2 separate regions of the Homo sapiens genome follow, and region 1 is linked to region 2. Evidence: promoter capture Hi-C in human tissues and cell types (Jung and others, 2019). All regions are on one chromosome and are shown on one strand. Each heading gives the region's core, a stretch centred on a gene start or on the middle of the fragment in contact. The rest is flanking DNA. Distances are from core to core; before and after follow the strand shown.

Region 1 (4,693 bases), core at 617-3,116, 180 kb after region 2:
GGATGCAGCTGGAGGCCATTAGCCTAAGCAAATTAGTGCAGAAACAGAAAACCAAATACCACATGTTCTCACTTATAAGTGGGAACTAAACATTGGGTGCACAGGGACACAAAGATGGGAACAATAGGCACTGGGGATTACAAAAGTGGGGAGGTAAGGAGGGGACCCAGGCTTGGAAACCAACTATTGATGGCCGGGTGCAGTGGCTCATGCCTGTAATCCCAGCACTTTGGGAAGCTGAGGTGGACTGATCATGAGGTCAGGAGTTCAAGACCAGCCTGGCCAACATGATGAAATCCCGTCTCTACTAAAAATTAGCCGGACATGGTGGTGGGCGCCTGTAATCCCAGCTACTCAGGAGGCTGAGGCAGGAGAATCGCTTGAACCTGGGAGGCAGAGGTTGCAGTGAGCCAAGATCGCACCACTGCACTCCAGTCTGGGCAATACAAGACTCTGTCTGAAAAAAAAAAAAAAAGAAAGAAAAAGAAAAAGAAAACTGCCTACTGGGCACTATGTTCATTATTTGGGTAATGGCTTCAATTGAATCCCAAACCTCACCATTTATGCAACATACTCATGTAACAAATCTGCACATGTACCTCCTGCATCTAAAATAAAATTTTTTAAAAGAAAAATCTTTTGAAAGAAGCCAGAGGGGGAAAAATACCTTACCTACAGAGAAGCAAAGATAAGAATTATGTCCAACTTCTTTCCAGAAACCATGAAGATAAGAATGAAGCATTTACAGTGTTGAGAGAAAAAAAAGTCTTCAATCTAGAATTCTGTACCCTGCAAAATTATTCTTCAGAAGTGAAGGAGAAAGAAAGACAAAGATTCTCAGACAAACAAACATTGAGGGAATTTGCTACCAGAAAACCTGCCTTGAAAGAAATGTTAAAAGTTCTTCAGAGATATAAAGAGAGGAAGCACATTAGAAAAAGAGTAAGTAGGCCCGGCATGGTGGCTCACACCTGTAATCCCAGCACTATGGGAGGCCGAGGCGGGCAGATCACCTGAGGTCAGGAGTTCGAGACCAGCCTGGCCAACATGGTGAAACCCTGTCTCTACTAAAAATACAAAAATTAGCTGGGCATGGTGGTGTGCGCCTATAATCCCAGCTACTGAGGCAGCTGAGGCAGGAGAATCACTTGAACCTGGGACGTGGAGGTTGCAGTGAGCTGAGATCACACCACTACACTCCAGCCTGAGTGACAGGGCAAGACTTTGTCTAGAAAAAAAAAAAAGGAAAAGAATAAGTGAATGTAAATAAAATGAAAGCATGTGAAATGTGTTCAGGAGCTTATGAAGTCCCCTGAACCCGATCACTTTTCCAGAGGATGAGCAGTGAATTTCAGCATCGTCAACAGCATATATTGGCATTCTTGCAGTTGCCCGCAGGAGGATATAGTTTATCAGACTTTATTCTTCCAAGCTACGGAGCCCCAGAGGAGGGAGGAGTCTGGGGAAGCTGGTCGAACAGACTAGGGAAAAAAAGCTGCAGTGGCCTCCCTATCGTGGGGAATTGCTGTAGCCTGCTACATGGTAGTCCTACGATCCTAACTTGGCCAAGATTCTTGTTTGGGTTCAAGAGCTGGGTCAGGAGTCTTCCCAAAGTGCTGCACTTGCTGTTCCATTCTATGTTCAATGGAATACAGCACAAGATAGAAGACAAAACTTACGAATCTAGAGAATGTCAGAAGGCCTGGAAGAGCACTGGTGAAGAGCAATAACAATGAATGGGGAGGAGTTGGGGTCCTTGGGTACCAAACCATGGGAGGCTCATCCCCCAGACAGGAGAGCCGCGTGGCCTCTGTGATTGCTTCTTCCTTGGTTTTGTGCTGTAGAATTTTACTGGTCAGGCATGGTGATTTACGCTTGTAATCCCAGCACTTTTGGAGGCTGAGCCAGGAGGACTGCTTGAACCCAGGAGTTCGAGACCAGCCTGGGCAACATAGCAAGACCCCATCTCTGCAATAAATAAAGACACAAAAATTAGCTGGGCATGGTGGCGTGCACCTGTAGTCCCAGCTACTTGGGAGGCTGAGGCAAGAGGATCACTTGAGCCTGGGAGGTCAAGACTGCAGTGAGCCGTGATTGTGCCACTGCACTCCAGCCTGGGTGACAGAATGAGACCCTATCTAAAAATAAAATAAAATAAAATAAAAATAAAAAAAATCTAGACAAAGTACCATAGACTGTTTGGTCTAGAGCAATAGACATTTATTGTCTCACAGATCTGGAGGCCAGAAGGCCAAAATGCCAGGGTTGGTTCCTTCTTAGGAGCTCAGAGGCAGAAACTATTCCATGCCTCTCTCCTTGCTTTTGGTGGCTGCTGGCAAGCTGTGGCATTCTGTGACTTGTGGCAGCATCACTTTAATCTTTTCTTGTGACTATGCGTGCTTGTCTTCCCTGTGTGTGTCTGTTTCCTCTTCTTATAAAGATACCAGTCATTGGATTAGGGCCAACCCGTATCCATTGTGACTACATCTTAATTACCGACATCTGCAAGGACCTATTTCAAATACAGTCATATTCACAGATCTCTGGTAAACATGAATTCTGGAAGGACACTATGCAATGCAACCCCAGACAGTGAGGATGAAGACGAAGAATTTGAGTGTCACTAGACAATCCAGTTTGTGGAGGCTAAAACACCTCTGTCTTGGGTGCTAATTCGCCGTGTTGGTTTCTGATTAACCCCGTCCTCGGAATGTCCCTACAATTTCTATTTTATCTACTGTTCTTTGTGTAAGAACACGTACTACATGTACTTAGTACTTACTTTTTTTTTTTTTTTTTGGAGACAGAATCTCACTCTGTCACCCAGGTTGGAGTACAGTGGCGCTGTCATAGCTCACTGCAGGCTTGACTTCCCAGGCTCAAGTGATTCTCTTGCCTCAGCCTCCCAAGTAGCTGGAACTACAGGCACACACTACCATAGCTGGCTAATTTTCAAAAGTTGCTGTAGAGACTAGGTCCCACTATGTTTCCCAGGCTGGTCTCGAATTCCTGGGCTCAAGCAATCCTCCCACCTTGAACTATGCATGGCCAGAGCTTGTCTTTACTATTGATCCTGCCCTTAGGTCAAAACAACCTTGATCAAAGAACCTTTAGGCAGGGCTGGGTGTGGTGGCTCACAGCACTTTGGAAGGCGGAGGTGGGCAGATCGCTTGAGCTCAGGAGTTTGAGACCTGCCTGGGCAACTTGGCGAAATCTTATCTCTACCAAAATTACAAAAAAATTAGCTGGGCATGGTGGTGTGCTCCTGTGGTTCCCGTACTGGGAGGCTGAGTTGGAGGATTAATTACTTCAGTCCCGGGAGGCGGAGGTTGCAGTGTGCTGAGATCACACCACTGCACTCCAGCCTGGGTGACAGAGTGAGCCCTTGTCTCAAAAACAAATAAAATAAAATAAAAATAAAAATTACAAAATCAGAAAAATTTTAAAAATTAAAAAAAGAGAAAATCCTGCCGTTTTCAGTAACATGGATGAACCTGGAGGACATTATGCTAAGTGAACCAAACCATTCACAGAAGGACAAATATTGCACGATTCCACTTGTATGAGAAGTTTAAAGTAGTTAAACTCACTCTGTGAGTATCGACTACTAAATCCAAACCCTTATCCTGCCTCTTTAATACTGTAATAGTACTTTTGGTACTATAATAGTAGTAATAATGACTTAATGATAACAGTTCTGTTCTGAGCGTCACGCATGCTAACCCATTTAATCTTCCAGCAACCCTGGGAGTCAGCAAGAATCACGATCCTCCTGTTTCAGATGTGGGAACTCACAGACATCCAGGACTCAAAGTCTTGCTTGAGGCCACAGGCTAAGCTTGGTTGGAACCCGGAGATGCTGGAGGGAAAACTGGTCTCCTGAGCTTGCCAGGAGCAGAGTTGAGTGGGACAGAGGAGGCGAGAGGAGCCTTCAGTTCTTGGTGAGTGGGGGTGCATGAGAGCTCTTAGCCATGGTTCCTCCTCATCCTCTTTAAATAATAATGGCTCTTGCAATGCAAGATTCACATTTTAGCACAAACGTTTGTTGACATCAAACGATCGGTTGGTGGGCAGTCCTACCGCACCAAAGCCTGAACTGGCAAAAGTGAAAACCCCAGAGTTCTGGGTGCACGAAGCATGTCCGGGTCTACACACCTGGACAGTTCTCCCCGCAAGGGACCCCACTCCCATGTAATCCCTTAGGCAACCCATCAAGTTGGAATAGTAATTACATGTTGGACATGGCAAATTCCTAGCCCTGGAACAAGATCACTCAATCAAGTCCTTTGTGAAGTCTTGCCAATTCAATTATTTTTTCTTTTTCAGGCTAGGCGTATAGCTGATTTAGCATGTGCCATACACATGGTCTGTTTCCTCTTCTGTCTTCCCACTAGATCGTGCACTAGTGGGAAGAGGTGGGGGTGCATATCACATGCTCATGAGTGGAGATGCTCATGCTATTTAGTCTCTGCATCTGTGCATCCAGCAAACCTATCAAGTCACCGTTTTATTATTATTATTATTATTATTATTATTATTATTATTATTATTATTATTTTGAGATGGAGTCTTGCTCTTGTTGCCCAGGCTGGAGTGCAATGGCATGATCTCAGGTCACTGCAACCTCCGCCTCTTGGGTTCAAGTGATTCTCCTGCCTCAGCCTCCTGAGTAGCTGGGATTATAGGCACCTGC
Region 2 (4,894 bases), core at 926-3,425:
GAGATTGGGCCTGGGATCGGGCCTGGGATCGGGACTGAGATTGGGCCTGGGATCGGGCCTGAGATTGGGCCTGGGATCGGGCCTGGGTTTGGGCCTGGGATCGGGCCTGGGTTTGGGCCTGAGAATGGGCCTGAGATTGGGCCTGGGATCGGGGCTGGGCCTGAAATTGGGCCTGGGATTGGGCCACGGAATGGGCCTGGGATCTGGACTGGGCCTGAAATTGGGCCTGGGATTGGGGCTGGGATCGGGCTTGGGATCTGAGCTGGGCCTGGAATTGGGCCTGGAATTGAGCCAGGGAGTGGGCCTGGGATCTGGGCTGGGCCTGGGATTGGGGCAGGGATCGGGCCAGGGCCTGGACTCAGGGCAGCTGGGATGCCCTTCTGGGCTCTGCACCCAGGGCCACCCCAGGCCTGGTGGAGGCTGCAGATCGTGGGTTCCGCCGCTGGAAGGATTCCCGAGGGGCCCCGCTGAGGTGCGGAGGCAGAGGCTGCAGGGACTAGGGGCGCAGCGCGGGCTCCTCGGCCTCTCTGCCCAGGGACGCGCTGGGGCTGCTGCTGGAGCCGCCGCTCCCGAGCTAGTTTGGCGCGGCGATTCTTGAACCACACCTGGGGGGCAGAGGGGACAGGGAGAAGGTGTGAAGGAGGGGCTCGCGCGGCCCAGTGAGCCTTTTGGGGTCGGGGCCAGCCTGAAGCCTCTCCCTGTGCTCAACAGCCCCCCATCCCCCACCCCACCAAAAGAGGGCCCCGGCTCCAAGGCCTGGAGAATGGAGGGAAGAGGGAGGGAAAAGTAGGGGGAGGAGGGTGGGGTGGGATGGGAGGAGCGGGGTCTGCCGCCCAGGTGCCCGGGGGGCCAGGGAGGGTTCGAGGGGAGGGACCGCGGGTTCTCACGGGTGCCTGAGGTCCGGGCACCGGGAGACCCCGTGGGGGACAGCCTGGGCCGATCATGTGGGCGAGTTTGGGCTAGCATAGAGTTGGAACAGGACTCAGGATGCAGCCCTGGTCTACACTGGCGGGACCCCTTGCGTGGCAGGGCGGGAGGTGGTCGGGCGGGCCAGGCCCCGGTGAGTGACAGCGGTGGGGAGGCTCCTTGGGGTGACTGGGGCGGGCAGGGTGGGGGTGGGGGTCAGACCTGCAGCTGTTGCTCCCTGAGGCTGAGCATCTCCGCCAGATTCAGTCGCTGGTCGTAGTTCGGGTACTGGTCCTTCTGAAAGTAAAATTCTAGCACTTTCTGCTGGCTTTCAGTGTAGACCGTGCGCTCCTGCCGCTGTCTCCTTGGAGGGTCCAGGGCCAGGGGAGGGCCTGGGGGTGGGAGGGAAACAGGTCACAGAAACCCCCAGGCAGCCCCCAGCCCCCCTAGGGACCCCGTCCCCTGCACCAGGCCAGGAGCCCAGGCAGTGTGGGCTGGGGCGGCACCGCGGATAGCAGCCTGGTATCCAGACCAGACCTTGCACCTCTCTGGGCCTCAGGGTCCACATCTAGGAAATAGGCGCGATAACAGCTCCTGGGAAGGCAGGCAGCGTAGGCGCCTCACCTCGGAGCAGACGGGGCTGCCTCAGGCCTGCTCAACCCTCCCCAGCTGCCCCGTCCCCTCCCATCCAAGGGTTATAGGGACCCTGACACTTGCAGGGGAGCCGCCACCTGCCCAGTCCTCTGCTCCACTCAACTGCATGGTTTAATTTCTTTCCTTCTTTCTTTTTCTTGGAGGGGATCTCGCTCTGTCACCCAGGCTGGAGTGCAGTGATGTGATCACGGCTCAAGTCAGCCTCCACTTCCTGGGCTCAAGGAACCCCCCGCCTTAGTCTCCCGAGTAGCTGGGACCACAGGTGTGCACCACGACCCCTGGGTAATTTTTGTATTTTTGCTAAAGACGGGTCTCCACTATGTTGGCTCGGCTGGTTTCAGAGTCCCGGGCTCAAGTGATCCTCCCACCTTGGCTTCCCAAAGAGCTGGGATCACAGGCGTGAGACGCTACACCCAGCTGCATGATTTTTCATTTCCCAGACACCACTAAGTTCTCCCCCGTCTGCAGGACAGGAAGCCGCCCGCACAGGCCCAGCCCTTCTCTGGCTGCCCAGATTTGCACTCTGCAGCCTCAGCCACAGGATCAGCCCAGACCCCTCACACCTCTGTCCCCGCTCACCTTGGAGATGACCAGGGTCTTGCATCCTGAGTCCTGATCTGTTCCCAAACACAAGTGTGTACTGACAAGGGCTTGGCTCTTAAATCACTTCTCTGCTGTGCCCACCCTGGCCCACCCTGCCGGGACCCTCCCTTTCCCACCCTGCCCTGCAGTCCCGCCCCCTGGAGGAGTTGAATGATGGATTAATCCTTCATCACTGATCAGGTACTGCCTGCTGAGCTGTGCTAGGAGCTGGAGAACCTCAGTGGACAACACAGCCTTGGTTTCACCCTCATGGGCCCTAGCCCAGGTGAGGTGGCATTCCATGCGGGTTTGGTTGGGGGAGTCAACATCGTGACCTGTGGTTGGGGTCCCCATCTCAGGAGAGGCACCGCCAGCCAGCCCCCAGGAGTCATCCTTGTTCCTTCCCAGGGCTGGGGCCCCGAGTGACCAATGCCGGTGAGTCTACCCACTCCTCCTGGCTCCTGGGCTGCCTGCCTTGTCCAGCCACTATCCCTCCTTCCTGGATGACCTTGCAACCTCCTCTTTGGTACCTCAAGGCCACTCTGGCCCCTACTATCCATTCCAAAAATTGCTCCCTAGGTGCCTATAGGTGTAAGCAGAGCTTAGTACACATTGGCCCTGCTGATAATGGTTTGGTTTCTGTAGTGGATTTGCCTATGGGGTGAAGTTCTGATAGGCATTCACATAGACCTCTGTTGGTTTCTCCTGGAGAGTAAATGACCTCAGTGCTGGTTTATTCCAGTTTATATACGGGGCTCGTGTGCTGGGTTCACATGAGCCCAGCCTCTCCAAGCTGCATAGACCTGTATCAGGAGGGGGCACAGGTCTGATGGACGTGCCCATGGACCGCTGCTGGTCTGCCCTTGTGAGTGAATGAACCTACTGCTGATGATACAGGGGACCCATGACCTTGGTCTACAGAGATCGGATCCCTCAGAGATGCGTCTTCTCTGTCAGACACCTGGCTGTCCTCATTTCCCCATGGCAGGACCCACGTGGGTTCAGGGATTAGAGAGATTGACAAGGCTCATGGTGCAGGGAACTAGAAATGACTCATGCAATCAATTTCAAAATTCAATAAAACGTAGACATTGTTACCACGGGCCTCGCTCATTGTTTTCACCTGCTACTTAGAGTTCTGCTGTAGAAAGCAGCATCCCCAGCAATGATTCCTCATCGCACACATTGTCCGGCTTCATCTACAGGACATGCTGGGAACACAGTAGTGACCACAGAGATTTTGCACCATGGCTATTTATTTGGTCAATAAAGACATAAACAGATGAACAAGCTCACTGGTACTATTTTGTGAAAATAGACATTTAAATATAAGCAAGTTCACGGCAGCATGATTCACTATCGCCCAAAAGGAGAAAATGCTGAAAACATCGATCCACTGATGCATGGATAAATAAAATGCTGCATGGCCAGGCGCGGTGGCTCACGCCTGTAATCCCAGCACTTTGGGAGGCTGAGGCAGGCAGATCACCTGAGGTCAGGAGTTTAAGACCAGCCTGGCCAACATGGCGAAACCCTGTCTACTAAAAATACAAAAATTAGCTGGGCGTGGTGGCCAGCACCTGAATTTCAGCTACTTGGGAGGCTGAGGCGGGGGAATTGGTTGAACCCGGGAGGCGGAGGCTACAGGGAGTGGAGATTGTGCCACTGTACTCCAGCCTGGGCAACAGAGTGAGACTCCATCTCAAAATAAATAAAAGTGGCTGGGCACGGTGGCTCACGCCTGTAATCCCAGCACTTTGGGAGGCTGAGGTGGACGAATCACTTGAGGTCAGGAGTTTGAGGCCAGCTTGGTCGACATGGTGAAAATCCGTCTCTACTAAAAATACAAAAAATTAGCCAAGCATGGTGGCGGGAGCCTGTAATCCCAGCTACTTGTTAGGCTGAGGTAGGAGAATCACTTGAACCCGGGAGGCAGAGGTTGCAGGGAGCTGAGATGGTGCCACTGAACTCCAGCCTGGGTGACAGAGGGAGACTCTGCCTCAAAAAACAAAACAACATCCCCCAAAAAAACCCACAAAAAATAGAAACCCAAAATGTCATATATTTACACAATGGGATATTACTCAACCATGAAAAGGAATAAAGCTCTGATACGTGCTACAACATGGATGAACCTTGCCAACATGATGCCGAGTGAAAGACGCCAGACTCAAAAGCACATATACGATTCTATTTATACAAAGTGTCCAGAATAGGCAAATCCATAGAGACAGAAAGCAGATTAGTGGTTGCTACGGGTTGGGGAGAAGGGAAAATTGGGACCAACTGGGAATAGCTATGGAGATAGCTATTGGGGACGGTGAAAAATGTTCTAAAATTGACTGTAGTGAAGGAGGCACAACTCTGCAAACAGACTAAAGACGATTTAATTTTTTTTTTTTGAGATGGCGTCTTGCCCTGTCACCCAGGCTGGAGTGCAGTAGTGGTGTGATCTCGGCTTGCTGCAACCTCCATCTCCCGGGTTCAAGTGATACTCCTGCCTCAGTCGCCCAAGTAGCTGGGATTACAGGCATGCACCACCACGCCCAGCTAACTTTTTGTATTTTTAGTAGAGAATGGGTTTCACCATGTTGGCCAGGCTGGCCTCGAATGCCTGACCTCAAGTGATCCACCCATCTCGGCCTCCCAAAGTGCTGGGATTACAGGTGTGAAACACCGCGCCCGGCCAAAACCATTTCATTTTGTACTTTATGATTATTCTTTTCTTTTTGTTTTGCCGTGTTGCCCAGTC

The links. The method cuts DNA at HindIII sites, captures the fragments that hold promoters and counts their contacts. A contact is called where the count stands out against the background at its distance.
Region 1: a fragment that was not itself captured here is called in contact with the fragment with the promoter of TPRX1 in region 2 in 3 of the 25 tissues and cell types used here (dorsolateral prefrontal cortex, lymphoblastoid cells and mesenchymal stem cells).

The regions. Positions count from the first base shown.
Region 1 is chr19:47,984,604-47,989,296 of GRCh38, forward strand. The region is part of intron 1 of BSPH1 (binder of sperm protein homolog 1); the gene reads right to left. Among named protein-coding and RNA genes, the nearest start is that of BSPH1, 5.2 kb to the right of the region's middle. The HindIII fragment of the contact is 7,096 bases long and covers 1-4,693 here.
Region 2 is chr19:47,802,376-47,807,269 of GRCh38, forward strand. It overlaps TPRX1 (tetrapeptide repeat homeobox 1), which reads right to left and starts at 2,176. Exons shown (of 3, transcript NM_001397346.1): 1 at 2,140-2,176; 2 at 1,129-1,298; 3 at 1-605. The coding sequence starts at 2,164. The HindIII fragment of the contact is 58,136 bases long and covers 1-4,894 here.